3 separate regions of the Homo sapiens genome follow, and all the other regions are linked to region 1. Evidence: promoter capture Hi-C in 16 types of primary human blood cells and fetal thymus (Javierre and others, 2016). All regions are on one chromosome and are shown on one strand. The core of a region is centred on a gene start or on the middle of the fragment in contact, and the rest is flanking DNA. Distances in the headings are between cores, read along the strand shown. Region 1 holds the start of GAB1 (GRB2 associated binding protein 1). Region 2 overlaps ZNF330 (zinc finger protein 330). Region 3 has its middle 21 kb from the start of LINC02432.

Region 1 (4,210 bases), core at 775-3,274:
CCATGAACTAACCATGTGAAAGAATGAATTAAACCTATATTATCACTTTCACGTTCAGCAAATATGTTATTCTTTAATTCCTCCAAGAATCTGTTTTTCCTAAATTGGGCCTTCTCAAAACAAATATATTTATCTCCCTACCCCTTTCTCCCTTCCTTCTCTGTCACATACACACACACACACACACCCCTACCTTTCTCTTTAGAACAGCTGGAAAAAAAAACACTGCCTCGTTCATATTTTTGGAATAAAGTTAGCATTTTTACTAGGATATTCAGGAAAACTGATAGATGGACAGGATTTGGAGGCATTACACATCTCTGGAGAGCTTTCTTATGATTTGTGGCATCGAGTCTTTCAATAAAATTACTTGTCTATAATAAATTCTGGCAGAAAGTAAATCAGAAATTCACTGGTGAGTTGTCAGTGAAGTTAAATACTTCACTCTGTGTACTTCACTCTGTTCTATACAAGCAAACAGTGACTAACAGGATTAACCTGAGCTCTAATACTGGGTGTAGATATTCCTCAACGACAAACGGGTTCCCTTCGTACAGGCATTAAATTTATATTATATTTAAGGGGGCATAAATTTTGCTTTTGCAAACACATTTTACTAGAAAAATATTTGATCCAGATGTCAGCACAAAAGTGTCATTTCTTTCCTTTGCAAGGGAGCAGCAACAAAACAACCAATGGGGAGGAAGAATAAGATCCCAGACCTCTGAAGAGGACACAGGTTTCCACTAAAGCAAGGTTGATACTTTCAAGGAATATTTTTCCTAACAGCTAAAACGGTTTAACACATAGCATCTTGTATCAATTACACAAACACCATTAAAGCCACTCTGGTTCCCTGGGAAAGGACCGCAACTGAAATCCCTTCTGGCTTCAGCTGTCCCCTCCTGCCGAGTTTGACAGCACATCCAAGGCGCCCAAACACCAGCCACTAGGCTCCCCCCCAGCGCCCTCCTCTCGCAGCAAACCGCCAAGGCTCCCGGGCCAAACTCCAAAGTCCCTCAATTCAAAACCGCGAAAATGTGAACCCTGCTAAGCAAACGGCAGGGCGCGTAATAACTTTTCTTTCTTTCCCTTTTGCGCGCGTTCGATATGCTTGTCTCTACTACCAACTCCTCAGCTCCACAGCCCGCTTCCCGCAACCCATCTCGAGGGGCGGAGGAGAGGGAGCGCCCACCAAAGAAAGGGCTAGTGAGCCCTAAAACCTCGGCAGTTTTCCCGGTGCGGGAGCTTTAGCACACATCAGCCCAATAATCAGATGCAGGAATAAAGCAGGAAGAAGGCTCCTCTCTCCATCGCACCCCATCCTTCCTAAGGAAGAAAAAAAGCATGCAGCAGGAGTTTAGCTGGACGTCTAGGTCCTTTTATGGGGCGAACAGGCCCGCAAAGCAGGCTGTCTGGAACCTGGAGGAAGAAAGTTGTCCGGCCAAGTGGATGCCTGGGCGTGAGGGAGTGCAAGGCACCCTGTCCCGAGCCCGCCAGGGGTAGGGGCCAAGGGGAAAGAGACCGGCATTCGTTTAAGAACCAGCCCCGCGCGCGGCCAGCTGCAGCCGCCGGCGAGCCGACTGGGGAGGGGTGTGGACGCCGAGGCCCGCGGAGTGGTGCCCGCAGCTCTACTTACATAACGCTTCAACTTTTTCTCCGGGGGGGACTTGCGGAGCCATCCGGAGCAGACCACTTCACCACCGCTCATGGTGCGCGCGTCTCGGGCTCCGGGCCGGGCAGCTGAGGGGCGGCGGGCGCGCTCCCGACACAGCCGACGCCTGCCGAGCGCGCAGTGGCGAGAACCTAGCTCTCCTGGTCGCGCACCCCGGACGGACTGGGCGGACAGACTCCACGGTGCGCGGGTTCCACGAGTTCGAGTCTCTCCTCTGCAGGCCCACGAACCTGAACAGAACGCGAGCCGGGGCCGCGGGCGCGCCGGCCTCCTTTCAGTGCGCCCGCCTCGCCTCCAGACGTGCCGTCTCGCCAGCTGCCTCAGCAGCGCTCGGACTCAGCGGGACTCTGCCCCGACTCGGTGCCGGAGCTTCTGTCCTTTGCGCTCCGCCCCCTAGGGACAAGACCTCCCCAGAGCGCTTTCCGAAACAGACACAGCGCTGCTCACACACACACACACACACACACACACACACAATGCCCCGCGCGGTGCCCGCTCGCCCGCCCACCCGCCCTCGGTTTCGATGCGCCCGGAGCGATCCTCCTTCCCTCTCCTCGGGGGAGGGTGGGTCACTTCGCGGCGCTCGGTGAACGCCGAGGAAAGGGGAAGCCGCGAGCCGCCTACGGGCAGCGGGCGCGGGGCTGGTCCCGGGTCACAGAGGGAGCCGCAGGGTTGGCAGCGAAGCGCGGGGCGTTTCTGAGCGGCGGGCGCAGGGAGGTCGCAGGTCAAGCCGGAGGGTGGGTCCGCTCTCGCGGCCGCCGAAGAGGGCGGGGAGCAGCAGAGGAACGAGGCGCTTGGCGGCTTGGCTCCTGGGAGGGATCCCGCTGTCCCGTCCCCTCGCGCTCCTCCCCCGCCGCCTCCCCCACCCCGGGGCTCGCGGCAGGTCCTGAGCGGCTCGGCCCCAGATCCCGATCCCTCCCTCCCTCTCCCGGCCGCCGGGCTCCTTCTTCCTCCCTCTCCTCCTCCCCTTCCCACGTTCAGGCCCGGCTCCGGTTTCTGCCCAGACTTTCTCTGAAACTCCGCCGGAGTGCTTCCAGCCAAAACAACAAGGGCCGGGGGAGGAGACGGACGAAGGGAGGGAGCAAGGGAGGGAGGGAGCGCGAGTCCGAGAGGCACCCTGGGATCTGTAGTTCGGGAAGCAGGAGCAGGGTCCTCCGCCGTCCGGCGGCCCCCAATCGGCTCCTCGCCCGGGAAGACCGCAGAGGCCTCGGCTAGGGCAGAGGCACCGGGGCTTGGGCGCGGGGAAGACTGAGGGACATTCGAATGTTCAGTCCGGGGCTTGCCATCTTGACTCAGCCCGGTGCCAGCTCGGAGCTTGTGCTGTGCTCGAGATCAGGAGTTTCGAGGGTTTTCTTTACTTGAGAGCCTGAAAGGCAAAACCGCGGGGAGACCACCATCCTGCCGGTCCCCGCCGCGCGAGATTAAAGGACAGACCAAGAGGGCGCGGGAGCTACCAGCTTGGAGGGGAGGACAGATGGGGACCCAGGGCTGGCCAGGGCTGGTCTCTGGAGCTGTTCTGCCAGAGTGATGGGGGCGCTTGGCGAGGCCAAGGATTTGGTTGGGTCCTATCTCTGAGACATTTTGAAGTCTCACACCCCTTCCATTTGTTGCCTATTCCACTTAACTTTGTATTTGTTTGAAATCTACTGTTCGGATGCTGGACTAGAAGAGGGACACTTGGCCGGGCGCGGTGGCTCACGCCTGTAATCCCAGCACTTTGGGAGGCCGAGGCGGGCGGATCAACTGAGGTCGGGAGTTCAAGACCAGCCTGACCAACATGGAGAAACCCAATCTCTACTAAAAATACAAAAATTAGCCGGGCGTAGTGGCGCGCGCCTATAATCCCAGCTACTCGGGAGGCTGAGACAGGAAAATAGCTTGAACCCGGGAGGCGGAGATTGCGGTGAGCCGAGATCGCGACACTGCGCTCCAGCCTGGGCAACAAGAGCAAAACTCCGTCAAAAAAAAAAAAAAAAAAAAAGAGAGAGAGAGAGAAAGAAGGAAGGAAGGAAATTTACTGGGTACCCTAGTTCTATTTGCCTACTTCCTTGTGTGTTTCACAATTATTATACTGGTCCTGAGTTTAACATGATTCTGTAATAAACATCTTCTCCAATTTATTTGTGAAAAAGCCCCAAAGCCAATTTCAGCAGATAATATAATCAGATAAAAGTGCTAAAAATATGACGACATAAATGAGCATTTCTGGAAAGACATAACTTCAGTCATTTTCTTATTAACACAACATTCATATTCTGAAGCTCCTCTGAGTTTGAAAATGTTAGATGATTGTAATAAGAAATTAGGTGCTGGAGTGGTGACAAGACAAAGATCCCTGCATATATGGAGGTAGTGGCATAGGGTAGTAAGCAAATAAAGAGTCAACAAAACTACAGATTGAGACTCAGTCTCAAAAAAGAAAAATCTGAAAAAGCCTGGTTCCCACTGGGGTTTAGAGACCGTCATCTTTTGGCAGGCACTTAACAGTATCACAAGGGCGGAACTTCTTGCAGATCTGGATGCACTTTTCAGGTC
Region 2 (4,210 bases), core at 944-3,443, 2.1 Mb after region 1:
AAATTGATCATCTTCACAGAGAAAGTTATGGCAAAAAGAACAACTGAATATTCTGCCTCCTATTGGATTAAAAAAACACAAATGTAATTAAGATAAACTTTAATTTAAAAAAACTCATATCTATAATACTGCTTAGAAGAGATGGTAAGTTACTTTGGAGATACACCAAAATTGTTCAGCCATTTTTATTCTGATAAAAGCTAAAATGAAAACTGTTGAAGTCCTTGAAACTGAACTGAAACTGAGAAAAGGGGGCTCTTACTCTCCACTAGCTACCCATATAACACTCACAATGCTCAAAGAGACTACCTGCTCCACCACAACTTCCCTCCATGTTTGGGTAAACAATACTAGCATTGACAATAACAGACAGTATAGATCCCTTCTCTAACTACACTGATAATCAAAACAGTACCAGTAGTTAGGATTGACAGTATCCTGAAAAAAATCTCAAAAACAGCATTCAAAATGTTTCAAAGTCAACATTCACCTATAACAAAGCTCATTACTTGTGTCTAATGACTCACCATGGTCCCACACGCCTCGTTCACATTCAACACACTCAGCATCGGTAAGAGGGCAGGCACAAGCATGTGTACTGAGACATTTCCTACCATGGCAAACCCAAGCTTCACAGAAGTCACATATTGCACCCTGTAACCAAGGAACAAGAATACATAATCATTATCACCTGACCACCTGCAACCATTCTTTAACCACGGCAACCATCAAAACTGTATACATTTAGCAATTTATCAACCCTCAATGATAGTAGGCCGCTTCATTTAAACATTTTACTACTCACTCTAAGCCAAAAATAAAAAGGGTTCTCTGAAAAACAACTTCTTAACAGCTATCCACAATATACAAAACTCAGTTACATATCAAAAGAAAAAAAGGTAAACTGTACACTTATCCTAATATTATTTAATTAAGCCAAAGAGATGGAAGTATTTTCCTCAAAATGAATTTAATTCAAATAAAGTTTGAAGGAACCAACAGCTTAAGCTTTCTTGTCTATAATAATTCCTGTAACTACACTGAATTTTTAAATACTACCATTTCTGATTTTTAAAATACCTTCTTATCTATATATTTGCATAGCTTTTCTAGAATTACTGAGAAATACGAAACTTCTGCCAGCTTCTTTTTTTCTCTTATGACAACTTATGTTTTAATAATAATTACATTTCTTTGTGGAAAAAATTTGAAGTAAAATATATGGAACTAAAATACAGGGTAAGATTCTCCAATTCTATATCAAGAAAAGACAATAACAATATGTTTCAATAAAACATTGACACCTACCAAATATTAAAAGCTAGAAAGAATCTTAAGAGAGTAGGATCAGACAATCTTTCCTTTATAAAGGAAAAGCATGGGGCCCAAGACTAAATCCAAGTCCCGAGTTGGATTACAGGTGAGGTGAGATTTAAAGCCAGGATTTCAGAATCTCAATTCAGTATTCTATTATTCAAGGCTCTGAAACAAATGTAGTAAACAACAAATAGGAAGAATGTTTTTTGACTTGCAAAAATGGGTTATCAGTATAGCTAGCAAATCATCAACTATATCTCTTGGATCAGCCAGGGTTCTTGCAAAAAAGAGATGGTACTCTCAAACTAGGTAATCTAGAAGAGTTTTAAAGAGATAATTTGCAGAGGACAGGGAAGTTCTTAGGACAAACAGGAGAGGACTACCTGGCCATATAGGGAGAACTGTGGTCCTTAGAGAAAGGATAAAACCAAACCAGGATAACCTGGTACGGAGTGAGATGAAGGAATAAACACCCAGATCTTATTCTCCTGCTATTCTCAGGGGGAATCTGGGGAGGCAAATAGAAGATATCCAGAAAATCACTTTTCTAGAATTTACAACTAAAGATATATGACTCTACTTAAATGTTTTCTTTATGTAAGAAGAAATTATTCACATTCAAAAAACAGTGATTTTAAAAAATGAATTTGGCTGAACTTAAGCTACCAAGGAAGACTGAAAGTGTTTTTGAATAAAGATAACTTGACAATCCTATACTTAAAATAAAGAGCAATTCACAAGATGATAATTCTCGCTCCTTGCTTCTATAATATATGCACATATGAAATATATCATAGGTCTCCCTCATAATAGAAGTTTACATGTTCTTGGAAATTTACCATAAATAAAATATTCCATTTGACATAAATATAGTATCATTTTCCTCATAGATTAAAATTTGAACAAAATTTTATTTGAACATAAAATCATACTGCAATACAGTAAAACTGGTTAACTCATATTTAGAAGGAAAACATGTTTCAGGAAAAAGAGCAAAATACATCACATAATCCAGTTGGTTTTATTATTCAAAAAGCTGAATTTACTTTAAAAAATCCTATATGTAATGAAGAGGTATGTTAAATATATACACTTTTTTGAAATGTAAAGTTTTAAAGAACACTATTATCCTAGGTTCGTTTGGAACTAAGTTGCTTATTTAACCAAAGGCTTAAACGTTGGTTAAGCAGGGCTTTCGGTACACTAAATACTGTTTTGTGAAGTCTGGTTAAGAGATATTAGAAAGGTACCACTGAGTATATACCCAAAGGATTATAAATCATGCTGCTATAAAGACAAATGCACACGTATGTTTATTGTGGCACTATTCACAATAGCAAAGACTTGGAACCAACCCAAATGTCCAACAATGATAGACTGGATTAAGAAAATGTGGCACATATACACCATGGAATACTATACAGCCATAAAAAATGATGAGTTCATGTCCTTTGTAGAGACACGGATGAAGCTGGAATCCATCATTCTTAGCAAACTATCGCAAGGACAAAAAACCAAACACCGCATGTTCTCACTCATAGGTGGGAACTGAACAATGAGAACACATGGACACAGGAAGGGGAACATCACACACCACAAACCGGGGACTGTTGTGGGGTGGGGGGATGGGGGAGGGATAGCATTAGGAGATATACCTAATGCTAAATGACGAGTTAATGGGTGCACCACACCAACATGGCACATGTATACATATGTAACAAACCTGCATGTTGTGCACATGTACCCTAAAACTTAAAGTATAATAATAATAATAAAATTTAAAAAAAAAAAGGTACCACTGAGAAATGAAATTCTGTTTAGATCAGCATGAAAAGTTTCCATGCCTTGTATGTTCCCTAATAAGAAAGAAAGAAGCAGCTAGAAACAAGTGGGTACTAAGGGAAAATCATACAAAAAGCATGCCACTCATAATCCAGATAACTACAGATTGATTGAAACAAGGGACAAAGCAATGATATTTAGAAAAAAATAACCACTGATCAGAATGACATTTTCTTATCCTTGAAAACGTACTAGTCTAAGAGATAATAAGAAGCTTACCACCATTGCAAGGCCAGTACTGTATACACCAGCATGCTTTATGACACAGTCTGAAGACTTCATCATGCACTTTGTTTTCCCTAATGAAGAAAAACATTTGCACTGTTAGTCTTGCAAAGGAATACATACCAGTACTCACGAATTCCTCCTTTTATCCAGCCCAAGTTCCTGAGGAAATAATTTAAAAACTAATGAAATTGAATCAGTATTTACTGCTTACATAACTAGAAAGAGAAAATGGATATAACTGAGACTTCATTACTCGAATCAGACTTTTCAGATTATACATTTACTAATAAATCTGTAAAATGAACTATACAATATATATGCTAATTTGTACTAAATCAGAAATTGCAGGTTATGCTTTGTAATCTAATGATCATTTTAACAGTTTAAAAACTTATCAATCTTCAGATTATTCAAAACAATTTTTAAAGGAATGCTTTTTATAACAAATTTTACATTTTATAATTCACAATAAAAACTGTGGTTTGAAGTTATTTCTTTCCACAGAATAATACCTCAAACCAAACCAAATAATGATTATGTAACTTATCGAGTTAATGTAATTTTATCCAAACATAAAAATTTACAACGAAGCCCCCAGTTAAACATTTTCCCAACAAAATTTTGAAATAGTGCCCAAATAAGCACAATAAACAATACGGTGATACAGCTACAAATCACCACACAGCCACTAAACCTCTGATCTAGAAGCAAATTAAATTACCAACTCAAAACACTATCAGGAAATTTGCTTATCAGATATTATGTGAGAGTTAATGATGACATTAATCATCCATCTGAGACTCCACAAAATGGAACACAAAAG
Region 3 (4,210 bases), core at 671-3,170, 2.0 Mb after region 1:
AGAAAGGGGAAGAGGAGTGAGAAGAGTGGGTGCAACTTTAGAGCGAGAAGCCCATATCTGAATAAGGGCATGAAGGGGGCAGGGATGAATGGAGAGGATACCTCAAGGAGAAGCATTCCAGGCAGAGGAAAGAGCAAGGATAGAGACCGGGGCAGAAGCTCACCTGGTGGGAATCTTCTAGTGGAAATGTGTGTTCCTATTCTATAAACAGCAGAGGCCAATGCAGCTACAGCAGAGCCAGGGAGGCATAGAATCAGTATATGATCTTAGAGAGTTGGGATGGAGGAAGTAGGAGAGAGAACAGTTCAGTCCCTGTGAACCACTGGAGGATTTTAGAAAAAAAGAGTAGGGACATTATGTGAATTACATTTAACAGGATCTTTCTGGCTGCAGCCGACTGTGAGAGGACCAAGGGTGAAAGCAAAAAGATCAACTGGGAGACTCCTGAAATAATCTTGACAATGCCTGAGGGTGGCTTAGACCAAAGTAGAAGCAGTGAAGATAACTGAAAGTTGTTGAATTGTGGACAGATTTCAAAGGTAAAATGGATAAGATTTGCTAACATGTTAAATGTAGTACGAGTGAAAGAGAGAATTCAAAGATGACTCTAAGATTTTTTTGCCTGAACAACTGGGAGAATGGAATTCCCAGGGAATGAGATGGAAAAAACTTGAGGTTTGGGGTAACATTGAGTTTAATTTTGGACATAATAAGTTTGAAATGTCTATTAGCCATCTGTGAAGAAATATCAAATACACCGCTATATATACAAACCTGTGATTCTGGGAATAGTTCCATCCTGAGGGTATACATTTGGGAGTCAGCTATATGGAGGTGGCATGAAATTCTTGAGATCAGAAGAGATTATCCAGGGAGTGAGCACAGATAGAGAAAGGAGAGGCCACAGGTCTATGTCCCACTTTTCCAGCAGAACACGGTGCAGTGTTAAACCATTGCCACACCTCGCCAATGAAACTAGACCACACTTACCCAACAGCCCAATTATTTGGAAAATTCTTGAAATACAGAAAGGAGTAGAGCAGCCCCAGGAGCTGTTAAGGTGTCTCAAAATTTATTCACTGTAACTCCCAGGAAAGTTCCATGGGACATCACCCAGGGCTGGCTGCAGCCTCTCAGAAGCACATGCAATGACAGCAGCTAAATGCGACTGACAAAAGTAAATCAGACACAGCTTAAATAACCGTGAAGCCTAAAGTTTGGACTCCCTGGTGCTTAGCCCATTTCTCTTTCTGATAAATAACTCTACCACCTAATTATTGAGGTAGCAAATAGTTGTAGCCCCATCTGGGCTAGCCTGAACTGTGGGTCTGTTAGTGCTCCTTAAAACTACTATTTTGTTCAGGGTGTATTTAGGAGGACTGAGCACTCAGTGGGGAAAGTTGCTAGAGGCAATACTCAGCTTCTCCTCAACTACCCAAACAAATCTGCGCCAGCACCAAGCTCACACACTGGTTCAGGACCACCAGCACTCTGCAGGAAACCCTCTTCCCCAAAGATGGTTCAGTGACCACTTAATGTTATTTCAGCATGACCCTTACATATGATGACCATGTGATTAAGTATCCAACCTGGGATACTTTCTAGTGTCAAAGGGGGTGCTATTACAACAGGTATCAACTGGGACTGTGTAGGCAGGAAAGGATTCGTAGTCCTAGCAATTCACACCCTCACTTACTCCACTCCCATTCCAGGAAGCTTATGAAGGAACTTCTTCCAAAAACATAAAATACTGCCTGAGATGACTTCTGGTAAAAACAACTTTGTCTGAGACCATTTTCAGAAATAGTTTAGCATGTCTTACAGATGTGAGGTCCTGTACAAGTTACTGACCACCCATTCTTTCATCTATCTCTGCCTATCTTTTATGGAGCACCTGTTCTGTCCCAGGAACAAGGGACACAGATTTATACAAGGGAATCAGTATTGGTTAAGTTCATATTTAAGTATGTTAACTCACTTAATTCTCACAAAACCAGTGAGAAGTTAACCCTGCTTGACCAGTGAATTCATGAATGCTCAGGGAGGTTATGGAACATGGCTAAAGTCACACAGCTAGCGGGTGGCAGCAGCAGGATTTTATTTCATCACTGGCTGCTAAGCTTGTTCCTCTTTCCTTGTACTACACTGAGGGGAAAGATGGTGAAAGACTCATGAAGGACATGAAAGGAGCTCATGAAAGATGATGAAAGACTCTTGAAAGACAGGAGTCCATGTCCCACAAGATGGCTCAGGCTTTGGCACAGTGTTTCTTGCCACTTTGGGAGGCTGAGGCAGAAAAACTGCTTGAGGCCAAGAGTTCGAGACCAGCCTGGGCAGCAAAGCAAGAACCATCTCTACAAAAAGGAAAATCTTACTTTAAAAAAATATGGTTGAGTCCACGTGAGAGACTACAGTACTTCCTCTTTCCTATTTCCATAACAAATCATTTCAACATACAATCAGATTAAGAAAACTGCTGTGAAAATTCACCATGTGACCCCTTCCCCACCACCCCACTAAAAATACAGGAAACCCTCCCAGTGCCTCCTAAATATTCATGGAGGAATCTTTCAGATGGCACCATAGGCAGTTTGATCTGCAAAGACAAAGTCACTAATATCACCTTTTAACAGCCAGTAGTTTCTTCCCTAATTAAGAATGTACTCTCCCCACCACCAGATTTCTTCTTAGTCTAAGGTTTCATCATCAGCCAGCATTTGCCAGTGCTGCCCTAAGGCGGCTGGCCATCAGAGCCACGTGGGAGCATCACTCCTCAGGCTTCACTGCCAGAAAGGCTGGCACCAGAGTTCTGGGATTGGACTAGGGAATCAGTATTTTTAACAGGTCCCCAAAGTGATTCTGATGCAGTCAGACCACAAATATTTGGCTTTTGGAAATTAATAAGTACCATTAGAGAGAAAGTTTGTATGAAAAAAAAAAATACATCACAAGTGCGGTTCTTGCTACTTCTGCCAAACTGCCATTTTCTCCAAGGTACTTCTTTCTGGTAATGGAGGAAGAGAGCTAAATCCAATTAAAACTCTCTGTGATGCTACTGAAGCTCAGTGTGATGGTTAATTTATGTATCAACTTGCCTGGGCTGAGGGATGTCCAGGTGGCTGGTAAGATATTATTTCCAGGTTTGTCCGTGAGAATGTTTCTAGAAGAGATTAGCATGTGAATCAGTAGACTGCATAGATTCCCTCACCAATGCAGGTGAGCATCATTCAATCTCTTGGGGGTCTGAATAAAAATGTGCTCTCTCTCTTTGAGCTGGGACATTCAGCTTCTTCTGCCCTCAGACATTGGCACTTCTGGCTCTCAGGCCTTTAGTCTCAGACTGAATTATACCACCAGCTTTCCTAGTTCTCTGGCTTACAGACAACAGATTGTGAACTTCTTGGCCCCTGTAATATCATAAGCAATTTATATAATAAATATCTATGTCAATACAGATATAGATAATTAGTTTTATTTCTCTAGAGAACCTTAACTAATACATCCATTGATATTAAAATCATTATCAACCTGATATATATTGGTAAATTAGAGTATGTCTCATCATATTATAGCATAATGATAAAGTCTTAATGCATATTCTACTTTTGCAATTTGGGGTCTAGCTAGCCTTCTCACAACTCGATGTAGGACATAGTTTAGATTCTTGTGTGTAGATAAGCCCTTGTCACCTTTTCAAAAAGTATTCTTTATAGCATTAAGTAACAGATGACCTAAATATTTTTAAAGTTTATAATTTACCTTTAAATCTGTAATTTGTACATTAAAAAGTTCAGGAATTATAAAGGCCCTGGAATTAATATAAAAACAAATATATTTTTAGTATAGGGAACAATCTCTTAGTTATGATTAAAGGCAACCTTATTTTTATCTCTCACCATTTGATTGCACCTTGAATTTATGTGGGCTCTTTAAAGATGTTAATGCCTAGACCCTACCCTCAATGGTTGTGATTTATTTGGACTGTAGCATAGCCCAGGCATTGGGATTTTTGAAAGTTTCCCAGGTGACATTAATACACAGCCAAGATTGAGAAGTGTGCTTCGCACACGATGGAGTGGGAGTACTCTGCAACTGAACCAAGGCTTGGGCAAGTCCCTAACTTCCCAGCAACTCTCAGAGGATGCAACCTTCTGCTCACCTGTGTAAAGCACAGTCTCAATGAGGAAGTTTGACAGTCCAGTCTCTTGGA

Evidence for each region. Contacts are between HindIII fragments. The CHiCAGO score rates a contact against its expected background, and 5 or more counts as called.
Region 2: a contact is called between a fragment that was not itself captured here and the fragment with the promoter of GAB1 in region 1, in 2 of 17 cell types (monocytes and total B cells). The highest score is 8.6, in monocytes.
Region 3: a fragment that was not itself captured here is called in contact with the fragment with the promoter of GAB1 in region 1 in 2 of 17 cell types (monocytes and M0 macrophages); the score reaches 5.5 in monocytes.

Annotation. Positions count from the first base shown.
Region 1 is chr4:143,334,690-143,338,899 of GRCh38, reverse strand. It overlaps GAB1 (GRB2 associated binding protein 1), which reads right to left and starts at 2,024. Exons shown (of 10, transcript NM_002039.4): 1 at 1,640-2,024. The coding sequence starts at 1,711. It also overlaps the pseudogene LOC124900789. RefSeq lists enhancers at 1,285-2,098, 3,008-3,217 and silencers at 2,128-2,177, 2,248-2,307, 2,408-2,707, 2,648-2,815. The HindIII fragment of the contact is 8,165 bases long and covers 1-4,210 here.
Region 2 is chr4:141,226,015-141,230,224 of GRCh38, reverse strand. It overlaps ZNF330 (zinc finger protein 330), which reads right to left. Exons shown (of 10, transcript NM_014487.6): 5 at 3,379-3,458; 6 at 528-654; 7 at 1-59. Among named protein-coding and RNA genes, the nearest start is that of ZNF330, 7.2 kb to the right of the region's middle. The HindIII fragment of the contact is 2,365 bases long and covers 1,011-3,375 here.
Region 3 is chr4:141,309,949-141,314,158 of GRCh38, reverse strand. No RefSeq gene overlaps it. Among named protein-coding and RNA genes, the nearest start is that of LINC02432, 21 kb to the left of the region's middle. The HindIII fragment of the contact is 404 bases long and covers 1,719-2,122 here.